2 separate regions of the Homo sapiens genome follow, and region 1 is linked to region 2. The links are contacts of gene promoters, found by promoter capture Hi-C in human tissues and cell types (Jung and others, 2019). All regions are on one chromosome and are shown on one strand. The core of a region is centred on a gene start or on the middle of the fragment in contact, and the rest is flanking DNA. Distances in the headings are between cores, read along the strand shown.

Evidence for each region. The method cuts DNA at HindIII sites, captures the fragments that hold promoters and counts their contacts. A contact is called where the count stands out against the background at its distance.
Region 1: a contact is called between a fragment that was not itself captured here and the fragment with the promoter of ELF2 in region 2, in 1 of the 25 tissues and cell types used here (thymus).

What each region holds. Positions count from the first base shown.
Region 1 is chr4:139,420,570-139,426,699 of GRCh38, reverse strand. No RefSeq gene overlaps it. Among named protein-coding and RNA genes, the nearest start is that of RAB33B-AS1, 30 kb to the left of the region's middle. The HindIII fragment of the contact is 3,007 bases long and covers 1,916-4,922 here.
Region 2 is chr4:139,175,747-139,182,278 of GRCh38, reverse strand. It overlaps ELF2 (E74 like ETS transcription factor 2), which reads left to right and starts at 5,061. Exons shown (of 10, transcript NM_001331036.3): 1 at 5,061-5,312. LOC105379412 (a long non-coding RNA gene) reads right to left here and starts at 6,124. Exons shown (of 4, transcript XR_007058273.1): 1 at 5,931-6,124. RefSeq lists a cis regulatory region at 3,600-3,724, silencers at 4,091-4,470, 4,481-5,440 and an enhancer at 6,041-6,090. The HindIII fragment of the contact is 12,940 bases long and covers 1,290-6,532 here.

The DNA.
Region 1 (6,130 bases), core at 2,170-4,669, 250 kb before region 2:
AAAATATGATCCATACCAGAAGAAAAATCAGTCAATAGAATCAGAAATGACAGAGATCATGGAATTAGCACAAAAAAAACCATTAAAACAGCTATTACTAATATAATTAAGAATTTACAAGAAAATATGAACATAAGAAAAAATGAAGATATGAAAAACAATGAAATGCAGCTTTTAGACTTATGTAATGCAATATCTGAAAAAAATTTAAATCACTGTAGGAGCTTAAAGCAAATTTAATGTAGAAGAAAAGATTGATGACCTTGAAGACATAGCAATAGAAGCTATTCAAGCTGTAGCACACAGAGAAAAATACACCAAAAAGCCAAACTGCTATGAGTGTCTGCAGAAATAAACTTCAGTAGATGTGTAACTCCAAGGACTGTAGGTAGTGGAATTGACAGATATGAAAAGTATAGAATTTCTGTGTTCTGAATATTTTAAAAGGTAAAGGATGTTATAAAGATGAGCAAGAGATTACCAGGAATGGACAGACAGGTTGGAAGGTAGTTGGGAGATGGGGAGATGCTCTAGAAATATAAAATATAATTGTTAGAATAACAAAACTCAGTGGAAAGGTTAAAGAGCAAATTTGATACAGATGAAGAGAGAATTAATAAATGAAGCCACTGAGGTGGCTCATGCCTATAATCCCAGCACTTTGGGAGGCCGAGGTGAGACGATCACTTGAGGCTAGGAGTTCAAGACCAACCTGGACAACATGGTGAGACCCTGTCTCTACAAAAAAGTTTAAAAATTAGCTGGGCATGTTAGTGTATGCCTGTAGTCCTAGCTACTCAAAAGGCTAAAGCAGAGCATGACTTGAGCCCAGGAGTTTGAGGCTTCAGAGTGCTATGATTATGCCACTGTGCTCCAGCTTGGGCGACTGAGGGAGACCTTGTCTCTTAAAAAATAAATGAGAAGATATCTTTAAAAATTACCCAGGGTATACTAAGGAGAGACAAGGAAGTAAAAATATGAAAACAATATTAAGAGATGGAAGCTTGGATAAGAAAGTCACACATATGACTAATTGAAATCTCAGAAAGAAAGAAAAGAAGGAAAAAAGTAGAGGCAATACTCCCTGCCCCCTAATATTTTGTGAAATTGTTCAAACATACAGAAAAGTTGAAAGAATTACACAGTGAACTTTTACATTTACCAATTAATTCTAGAACATTTTGTTATATTTACTGTATCATATAGCTATCCACTTAACCATCCATCAATCCTATTTTTTATGCATTTCAGAGTAAGTTGTAGACATCACCACTAAACATTTTAGTATGTTCATCATTAGTATTCAGTATTGTTCTATAGCTTTTTTGTATTTAAAATGTACATACAATAAAATGCACAGATCTTAAGTACAATATTTGGTAAATTTTTACAAGTGCATATACCTGTGTAACACAAACTGTCAAAAAAAACCATATACTGCTCTTCAGAAAATTCCCTTATGCCCCTTGCTAGTCAATCCCTGCCCTTTACCTCCCACTGGTAAGAAGTGTTCTAATGAGAGGTATCATTTAGATAAATAGTGCTGTGATTTTTGCAGAAATGATGAAAAAAATGAATTAACAGATCTGGGAGTCACAAGATAATGAAAGCAGGATACATAAACAGAAATGTATAATGACATTGTATAAAGAACCTGCAGAATTTGTAAGATCTTACAAGCAGCTAGAAAGGGCAGATCACTTGCAAAAGAACAGCAGTGAAAATGACAGTGGATTTATTATCAGCATCAATGGAAACCAGAAGTTAATGGAATAATACCTTTCAAGTGCCAAAAGATAATGGTCAACTAGAATTATGTACTTGCCCAGACTACCTTTTAAGAAGAGTGAAATAGAGACATTTAAAGATAAGTGATAATTGAGAGTTTAGCTCAGAGATATGCACAAAACTCCTAAATGACATATAGTCATGCACTACATGACAAAGTTTTGGTCAATAACAGACCGCATATACAATGGTGGTCCCATAAGATTATATTGGCTGAGTATTGCTAATCCAAAAATCCAAAATCCAAAATACTCCAAAATTTGAAACTTTTTGAGTGCCAACATGATACTCAAAGGAAAGGTTCCTTGGAACATTTCTTTGGATTTTCAGGTTAGGGATGCTCAACACTAAGTATCATGCAAATATTCCAAAATAAAAAAAAAATTCAAAACCAAAATTTTCTTGTCCTAAGGATTTAGGATTAGGGATACGCAACCTGTAATACTGTATTTTTACTGGACCTTTTCTATGTTTAGATATACAAATACATACTCGTATTACAGTTGCCTATTCAGTACAGTAATATGCTATACAGGTTTGTAGCCTAGGAGCAAAAGGCTATGCCATATAGTCTAAATATGTAGTAGGCTATACCATCTAGGTTTGTGTAAGTACAGTCTGTGGTTTGCACAATGATGAAATCACGTAAGGACACATTTCACCTTTCTCAGAATGTATCCCATCATTAAGTGATGTGTGACTGTAGTTGAGAGATAGTATTTCACAGGAGTTAAGAATATGCACTTTGGAGACTCCATAGGTGTGAATCCCTATTCCACCATTTGCTAGCTGTGGAACACTGGACAAGTGAGTTAACACCTCTGTGCTTCAGTTTTTTTTCTCACTTGTAAAATTTTGACAATAATTGTATTCATGGAATTGTTATGAGGATTAAATGAACTAATATAAAATAAAGCACTTAGAACCAAACCTGGAATATAAGTGCTTTGTTAAGTCAGAGCTTAAAAAAAGGAAATTATCATAAAAGAATGGTCTGAAGTACAAAATAGAATGGTGAGTGAATAAAATGGTGAACAAGCTTGTCAGTCCAAACATCAGTCTAGAAAAATAAGGTCCGATTTGTGAAGTTTTGAACTAATGCCTCCAATAACAATAGCAAGTAGGCATTTGGGGGAGGGTCAATGTAATTAAAATTATTCTAAGATCATTACTTCGTTTCAAAGGAAAGTTAAGATATGTTTGCCTTTACATTTTGTTAAGTTAGACACTTATAAAATGCAGGGACAGTTGTTAAAAAAAAAAGGAATAAATACAGAGCTATGAATTCCAATTCAGTGGAGGAAAAATGGAATTTAAAAAATCTAACCATAAAGTCAGTTTTTTAAAAATGCAGAAACAGCCAGCGCCGTGGCTCACGCCTGTAATCCCAGCACTTTGGGAGGCTGAGACGGGCAGATCACGAGGTCAGGAGATCGAGACCATCCTGGCTAACACGGTGAAACCCCGTCTCTACTAAAAATACAAAAAATTAGCCAGACATGGTGGCGGGCGCCTGTAGTCCCAGCTACTTGGGAGGCTGAGGCAGGAGAATGGCATGAACCCGGGAGGCAGAGCTTGCAGTGAGCCGAGATCACGCCACTGCACTCCAGCCTGGGCGACAGAGCGAGACTCCGTCTCAAAAAAAAAAAAAAATGCAAAAACGTTGGGGCTATAAAAATAGTAGCTCAGAAAAAGCAAGGCAAATATAAACAAAAAAGATATATAAACAAATCCAACTATATCAAGAATCACAATAAACATAAATGTATGACATTTACCAATTAAAAGATAGAGTTTGTCAGACTGAAATGAAAAGAAAAATCTAGCTGTATGACATATACAAGAATCTGAAAACATACAGGCAAAACAGTAGAAGATAAGAGATAGAAAAACATATACCAGGCAGATCTTAATACAAAGAATTCACATACATACATTAATTTCAGAAAAAAGATTTTAAGACAAAAAAAGATTATTAGAATAAAAAGGTCATTACCTACTGATAAAAGGTTTTTTTCACCAGAAAAAAAACAGAAAAATTCTAATCCTGTTTGTAACTAATAAAATGGACTTAAGCTATATACAGCAAAAAATGTTAGAACTACAGGAGGTGGCAAATTTCTATGCAACTCTCTCAGTTCTTGATAGGTTAAACAAACAAAAACCAGTGCATTGGTCTAGGCCCTGGGAATACAGAAGTGAACAGGCAGACCATCACCTGCATGCTAGTGGGAAGATAAATTAACAAAAATATCAAATTTTGGATAATGATAAATGAATGAAGAAAAAATCAAATATAAAGGTAGAATCTAATGGGAAGAGGTGGTTATTTTATGAGGGTGGTTAAGGGAAGGCTTCCTTGAAGAGGTGGCATTTATGCGGACACATGAATTAGTTGAGGGAGCAAATGATGTGTATATATAGGGGAATATTTTTTCAGACAAAAGGAAAAGCAACTGGAAAGACCCTGAGGCAAACATGAGTTTCACATAATGCAAATATACATATTTAGCTTTTTGAATCTGCTTAGAATGTCTTTTCCCCCCATTTTAAGTAGAATGTAGAAACCTTACATATAGGTCTACTTAACCTGTACCCCTTACGTTAGAGTTGTCATGAATTACGTCTACATATGTTTAAAACCCCATTAGACAATGGTACAGTTATTTTCAACCATCAAATATATTTTTAAAGAACTTAGTACCTGTCAATGATAGACTAGATGTGGCACATATACACCATGGAACACTATGCAGCCATAAAAAAGGATGAGTTAATGTCCTTTGCAGGGACATGGATGAAGCTAGAAACCATCATTCTCAGCAAACTAACACAGGAACAGAAAACCAAACGCCACATGTTCTCACTCATAAGTGGGAGTTGAACAATGAGAACATATGGACACAGGGAGGGGAACATCACACACCGGGGCCTGTTGGGGGATGGGGTACTAGGGGAGGGATAGCATTAGGAGAAATACCTAATGTAGATGATGGGTTGATGGGTGCAGCAAACCACCATGGCACATATATACCTATGTAACCTGCACATTCTGCACATGTATCCTAGAACTTAAAGTATAATTTAAAAAACAAACAAAACTTAAGAGGAGAATAGGAGAATAGACTACTATTTTTACACAGATATTTACCATTTCTGGTGCTCTTCCTTCATTCCTGATGTTTTCAGGTTTCCTTCTGGTATCATTTCCCTCTGTCTGAAGAATTTTCTTTAGCAATTATTTTAGAACAGCTCTGCTAGAAATGAATTCTTTTAGTTTGTCTTCATATGAGAATGCCATTATTTCACCTGAATTCCTGATGGATATTTTCACTAGATGTAGTATTCTGTGTTGACACTTTCAGTGCTTTAAAATTATTGTGCCACTTCTGGCCGGGCGCGGTGGCTCATGCCTGTAATCCCAGCACTTTGGGAGGCCAAGGTGGGTGGATCATGAGGTCAGGAGATTGAGACCATCCTGGCTAACATGGTGAAACCCCGTCTCTAATAAAAATACAAAAAAATTAGCCGAGCGTGGTGGCAGGTGCCTGTAGTTCCAGCTAGTTGGGAGGCTGAGATAGGAGAATGGCATGAACCCAGGAGGCAGAGCTTGCAGTGAGCCTAGATCACACCACTGCACTCCAGTCTGGGCGACAGAGCAAGACTCCGTCTCAAAAAAAAAAAAAAATTATTGTGCCACTTCTGTGGTTTGCATGGATCCTGCTGAGAGATTTGCTGTGATTCAGATTGTTTGTGTGTAGGTAGTACTTTGAATTTCTCTAGCTACTTCCAAGATTTTTTTCTTTGTCTTCATTTTCAGCATTTTGATTGTGATGTGTTTGGGTATAAATTTATGTGTTAAACCTGTTTGGGGTTTGTTGAACTTCTTAAATCTGTAGATTTGTCTTTTGCCAAATTTGAGACCTTTTCTTCCATTATTCTAAATTTTTCAGCACCTTTTGTCATTATCCGAGAGGTCTCTGAGATTCTACTCATTGTTTTTTCAAATCTTTTTTCTCTCTGCTGTTCAGATTGGTTAATTTTTATTGATCTATTTACAAGTTCATTGACTCTGTCATGTTTACCTTGCTATTGAAACCATCCAGTGAATTTTTTTTAAATGTTGGCTATTGTATTTTTCTGTTCTAAAATATCCATTTGATTCTTCTTTATGTCTTCTATTTATTTGCTGATACTTTCTATTTTTTTCTTATTGGCTTCAAAAATGCTTGTGACTGCTTGTAGGAGAATTGTTATAACAAAGTCAAGAACTTTGGAGGGTCTGATATTTTACCTTACTTGCAAGTTAACAAGTTAGGCTGCCACAATTTCATGAATAGTG
Region 2 (6,532 bases), core at 3,812-6,311:
ACTGAGTGAATGCCCTTGTGGCTGCCAGCTTCCAACATGGCCCTCAATGATCCTCATCTCCTGGTATGAATGTCCTTGTGTAGTACTCTCCCACACTGAATTAGGATCAATCTGTGTGACCAAGAGAATACAACAGAAGTGATGGTATGTGACTCCAGAAGTTAGGTCAGAAAAGGCAGCATAGCTTCCACTATATTCTCTTGGACTTGGAATGTCATAAGGGACAATTACCTCATTTAATCAAACATAACTCGTACTTCCAAGGATTTGCCTGAGAATGTGAAGTTGAAAGGTTGGGAGAGGGAAATGACTTACTGGCCACTACTCAGAATTTTGTCTTCTCTTCTGTTCCTCATGTTGATTGTCACTGCCACCCCCATACTGAGCCCTAAAGTGTCATCCTACCATTTAATATTCTGATATAAAAGCAGGAAAATCTCTTCCTTTGGTTAGTCTATTATACTGAAGGCAGAATGAAATTTTATTTGTTTTATTTTGTTTATTTATTTTTGAGACAGGATCTCACTCTGTCACCCAGGCTGCAGTGGGGTGGTGAGAGCACAGCACGCTGCAACCTCAAACTCCTGGGCTCATGTGATCCTTCTGCCTCAGCCTCCCCAGTAGCTGGGACTACATATCCATACCACCACACCTGGCTAACTTTATTTTATTTTCTTTGTAGAGATGGGGTCTCAAACTATGTGATCCTCCTGCCCATGCTGGTCTTGAACTTCTGGGCTCAATGATCCTCCCACCTTGGCCTCTCAAAGTGCTGGGATTACAGATGTAGCCACAGCACCCAGCCAAGGATGAAATAATTTTAAAAAAAATCACTTTCCTATATATTGAAGAAAACAAAGGGAGAAATAACACAGAGAAAAGAAGTATAAAAGCATTATACCTAATATGCATATAATCATTTATATTTAGTATATAAATATATGTATATGTATATACATGCACAGAAAAAGGCCTAGAAGCTTAAAGGCTAAATTTTCATTTATGGTTATCTGTGGAAAAGTAGAGGTAGGGGATGGCTGCGTAAGTGTGAAGGGTAAGTGAGAAGTGGGAAGGGAAATGGAGAGGGAAGGTGAACTTGGGTTTTAAAAAGTTTATTTTGAATTATTTGAAAATTGATGATGAGAATGTATTAATGAATCATTGTATAATTAAAAAATAAACTATAATAAAAATAATTAAATAAAATATAAAAATAATTAAAAAATAAACTATATAACATAAAAAACTATATAACATAAAAAACAGCAAAAGCAATCCAGTTACAACAGAGATTTCCTATTCCATGATCATTAGCTTGCTACTAGGACTACTGGTCACACTAGACTTTTCCTTCTGACCCCTGTTCTCTAGAATGCTTTACTGTAAACCAGGGGTGTCCAATCTTTTGGCTTTCCAGGGCCACACTGGAAGAATTATTATCTTGGGCCACACATTAAATACACTAACACTAATGATAGCTGATGAGCTTAAAAAAAAAATCGCAAAAAAGTATTTTAAGAAAGTTTACAAATTTGTGTTGGGCTGCATTCAAAGCGGTCCAGGGCCGCATGCAGCCTGCAGGCCCTGGGTTGGACAAGCTTGCTGTAAAATTTCTGGGTTCCTTACTCCGCTGGCCTCCATAAGGGATGTGTTTAAGAACCATAGCCAAAGAGCTGCCTGAGACACACCAAGTTAGGCACCTTGCAGGCCAATATGAAGGAAGCAGATTGCTCTTTCTGCTGTTGTTTCAGTCAGCTATCACAACACTAATTCCAGGAACCAACTACTCCAAAACACTATTACTCCAAAACGCTATTACTCCAAAACACGGCTTGAAACAACAATCCTTTATTCTCTAGGTTGCTGACCCCAAGCTGGGACTGGCTTCAGACCTGCTTCATATTTCTTTGACCAGCAAACTAGCCAGGTATGTTCTTCACATTGTGAAAAACAAGAGTGCCAGAGAGGGAAGGAGAAACATGAAATACCTCTTGAGGCCAGGCTCAGAACTGTCACACTCACTTCTGCCTATCTTCCTTTGACCAAAAGCAAATGGACTGATCTAAGCTCAACATGAACAGGATGGAGAAACATCCTATCTCTACTGAGAGGAACTACAAAGCCGTATTTCAAATGGCATGCATGCATGGAGTAGTGAAAAATTGGGAACAATAATGTTATCTACCACTGTTATCCACCTGGGACTTTCCAGCTTACTGCCAATCGGCAGTGGGAGAGAATTTCTTCTCAACGTGGCTGACAACAGAAATTATGTGACTTGGCAGGTGATATCTGTCCCTAACAACAGGAATCAGTCTTTGTCTTTGCCGGCTCCTTAGTATGCTATGTTATGTTATGAAGATGCAATATTATTGATTATTAATTAATTCCTTACAAATATCAAATTGGGCAATGGTTCCCATAAGTGATAAGTTATTTACAAGAAGTGAGATAAAAAGACTCCCTTAGAAAGGGTGCTCTGTTTGCAGAATCCTGTTTATTGTGTATTAAAGATTTGAATGTTACCAAATTGTTACAAATTCTTTAGTTCAAAAGGGTGTCAACAGTCCCATGATTTAGAACTCAGGAATCCAGAAAACTTTGTCAAGAGTTAAGAGGATCTTTGATTAACAGTCACGGTCTCCAGGTTTCCTCTGTGTTCAAGAGTAAAAATTTCTTAAATAAGAATAAGAGCCCTCGGACTTGCTTTTTTTTGAGACGGAGTTTCGCTCTCGTTGCCCAGGCTAGAGTGCAATGGTGCGATCTGGGCTCACTGCAACCTCCGCCTCTCGGGTTCAAGCGATTCTCCTGCCTCAGCCTCCCGAGTAGCTGGAATTACAGGCACACACCACCACACCCGGCTAATTTTTTGTATTTTTAGTAGAGACGGGGTTTCACCGTGTTAGCCAGGATGGTCTTGAACTTCTGACCTCAGGTGATCCGCCCGCCTCGGCCTTCTAGAGTGCTGGGATTACAGGAGTGAGCCACCGCGCCCGGCCTTTTTTTTTTTTTTTTTTTTTTTTTGAGAAGGAGTCTTGCTCTGTCGCCCAGGCTGGAGTGTAGTGTTGCGATCTCGGCTCACTGCAACCTCTACCTCCGGGGTTCAAGCGATTCTCCTGCCTCCCGAGGAGCTGGGACTACAGGCGTGTGCCACCACGCCCAGCTAATTTTTGTATTTTTAGTGGAGACGGGGTTTCACCATGTTAGGCAGGCTGGTCTCGAACTCCTGACCTCAGGCAATCCACCCTCCAGGGCCTCCCAAAGTGCTGGGATTACAGGCGTGAGCCACTGCGCCCGGCCCAGAGTTGCTTTTTAAGAAAGGAAGAGAAGACTCACCCCCAAGAAAATAGAGGCAACAGCAGTATTAACAAAAGAAAGAGATCATTACATTCTTAGGCTCTTCAGGGATTTAAATCTGGAGCCTCCTGCAGCTTTCTGACATTTGAGCCTTACTCTAGGGTGATTTCCACGGTTCCCACGTCCCTTTCAAGAGAACAGCTATCACTTATATTCCTCAGTGTTTCTTCTTTGCTCCAGACTGGTTGTGAAGCCGTAAAAAGGGTAACGCTGGAGCCCAGAAATCAGCTGGTGAATACCGCGCCAGGTGCCAGGTCCATCGCGGCGAGGCTGCAGGAGCCCTGGAGGGGAGCAAAAGGAGCCCCGCGCGCACCGGACAGGCTGTGCTCTTTGTTAAAGAAACAAATACAGAAAACGCCGCGGCGGGGAATGGTGGTGGTGAAGAAATAGACTGAGGCGTTTGTATGCATTAACTGTGCCTACAAAGCCCATTAAAGAGACGCTCCTACACAGGGCAACCCACGGCACCGTGTCATTGGCTTTTGTGCACTTGAAGGCGCGTGAGAGTGCCCCGCTCGAAGGCTCCCCTTTGTGTGAAAGTGTGGAAACCAGAAGCGTGCAGCCACTGCTGGGTTTTCGTTTTCGAATTCGCAGGCACTTGGGCCAAAATACTCCCACACCAGAACACTCTCTCATTCTCGCACCAACAACACTCAGACTTGAGTTACTTCTCCGTTGCGGACCGCGCAAGGAGCGACAATGGCTAGGTGCGAGTGCCCGCAGCTCCCCGGGCAGCTCCAAGGGGCCGCCCGCCGCGCTCCGCAGCTGCGCGCTGGGCCCAGCCACCCGACAGCCAGCAAACGCCGGCACCAACCGCCGCGCGGCCGGGCTGTTGGGCGGGTGGTAATTTCTGGGAATGGGGCGGGGTCGCGGGTGTACTACGCCCGGCTTTTGCTAGCGGGGAGGAGGAGCTGGCGGCGCCGAGGGGCGCGAGGCTGGCGGGGCGGTGCGCCACGTGCGTCACCGGCCGGGGCGGGGCCGGCGTCGCGCTCCTGCCCGAACCCCCACCTTTCACTAAGCCAAGGCTGAGGAGTGGGAACTGGAAAGACCGGGCTAGGAGTTTTTGCAAAACCTCGCCCCCCTGTAACTGTCAGACTGCCCGACTGTGGGGCCGTCTCCGGAGAAGGGCGAGAGTCCTGAGTTGGGGATGCGGTGACGGCGGGGCCTGCGGGGGCCCTGAGTGGCGAGGGTGTGTGCGTGCGGTCCCGGCCGGCGGGGGAAAGCCGGCGGGCGCTGCAGGTGCACGCGCGGCCCCATCGGCCTCACACGCCTGCCCCGTGCGGCAGAGCCCCCTGCACCAATCCGGGGCTGGAGTGGAGAGCGAGATCGGGGAGCCCTGGGCAAGGAGCCGGACAAGTGACGAGCGTCTTTACCTGGGAAGGCGGGTTTGGGAGAAGTTGGGCGAGGAGAAGAGGGCGGGATTCAAGACAGCAAAAGAAGCAGGTTCGGCGGGCTGGTGGGGGCCCGAGGGCGGCGGGGCCCCGCGGGGTATAAATAGCCGGCCCGCGTTTGACAGGCGCTGCGGTGACTGGCGGTGCCGCCCCCGCCCCCCCGCCGCGTGGGGAGGGGAGGAGCACTCTGAGCTGGCGGGGAGGGGGAGGCGGACTCCAGTGTCCTGGTGGAGGCGGCAGGAGGCCGAGGGGGAGGAGCCGAGGCGGGGGGTGGAGGGAGGGGGCCGGGAGCGGAGCGGGGCGGGGGCAACCATTGCTCCCAGCGCCAAGCTCTGTGTCGCCGCCGTCGCCTAGGCGGTTGGGGGTCGGTGGGGCGGCGCGGGCGGGGGTCGCTGCGCGGGGCGGCGAGCCTCTGTTTTGTCTCCTTCTCTCCCTGTGGAGCGGCTCGGGCTGCTGGGGAGGCCCCGGCTCCCTCCGGACGCTCGGCCAACGGCGGCGGCTAGTCCGCGGCCCTGCTGAGAGGGAAAAGGACGCCGCGGTCTTCCCAGGCGTCGCGGAGAGCAGGTAAGAGCGCGGGCAGCCGAGGCTGGTGAGAGGGAGCGCGAAGGGCGCGGCGATAAAGCCTGGCTGTCCCGACTGCCGCCGCCTCCCTCCGCGCCCCCGCCCCGCGCTTGTGTTGTTTGCTTCGGGGTTTGCGGAGGGGTTTTCCGGCGGCTGCGGCGGTGACACCGGCCGGGGGCTGGGGGAAGGGGGCTGAGTGTCCCCAGGCAACGGTCGCGGAGCGGGACTTGGAGAAAGGGGAAGGCGCGCTGCGCGCCTGCCCGCGGGGAGCGCGGGGCGCGGGGCAGGGCTGAGGGAAGAGGTTACAGACCCCGGCGGGGGGGATGGGCCGAGCGCAGCTGGTCTCTCCGTGTTTACATCTCTGCGCGAGTCACCTCTGCCGAGAAGCGGACTGAACTGACCCGCCTCATCCCGCGGGGAGGCCAGGGCGGGGGTCCGGCTCCGGAGGAAGCGCGTCCTGGGAGGGTTTGTGTAGGGCGGGAGTCTGCGGCCGGCGCCGGGGCTGGGCGGCGAGCTCGGGGCGGGACCTGGGAGGCTCCGGCCGCTCTGGGTGGCGGGCAGGCGGGGGGGGGCGCTGGACACCAGTTTCCTTCCCTGTCGTGCCTTATCGCCGCCGCTTACCTTTCCTTCCCGGCGCTGCTAGCTTGCACGACAGGTTGTACTCGGCAGTTCTTTTATTCTCGCTCTCCACGCCGGCACCGTGCTGCCATCTCCCCCTATTCCCCGGGAGGTAGGGAGGCTTTGCTCGGATCGGAATCTGTTTCTTAAGCAAAACAAAAACGGGCTCGTAACAGGCACGTCCAGTGACCGCCTTCTGGATCCTCGCGAAGCTGGTCCTCAGGGACCGCGCGACGGGATGGTCTAGGGGCGCGGAAGGAGGACAGGGAGGGCTCTGCCAGGGCTGGATGCTGACTCTACCCCAGGAGCTTTGTGATCAGGGTAGCCGAGCCCTCTCTTCTGCTCCATTTGGGCATTTTTATTCCATGTCCATAAAGGACTCAAAAAATATTCCGTGACACCAAGAATAATCCAGATCGCACAGTTTCTAATCTTTTTCCCTCTGCCAGCATCCTGGATGGACTCTTTCTAGGAGGCAGATTCGCTGCAGAATAGCCTTTAAGTTTAGTACTTCATTAAATGAGGAAGAGGGGGACACGTCATTGTAAAACTGTTAAAAATTCCCCCCTTTCTTGTGTTCATGAACATTTACTTCAGCTTAATGG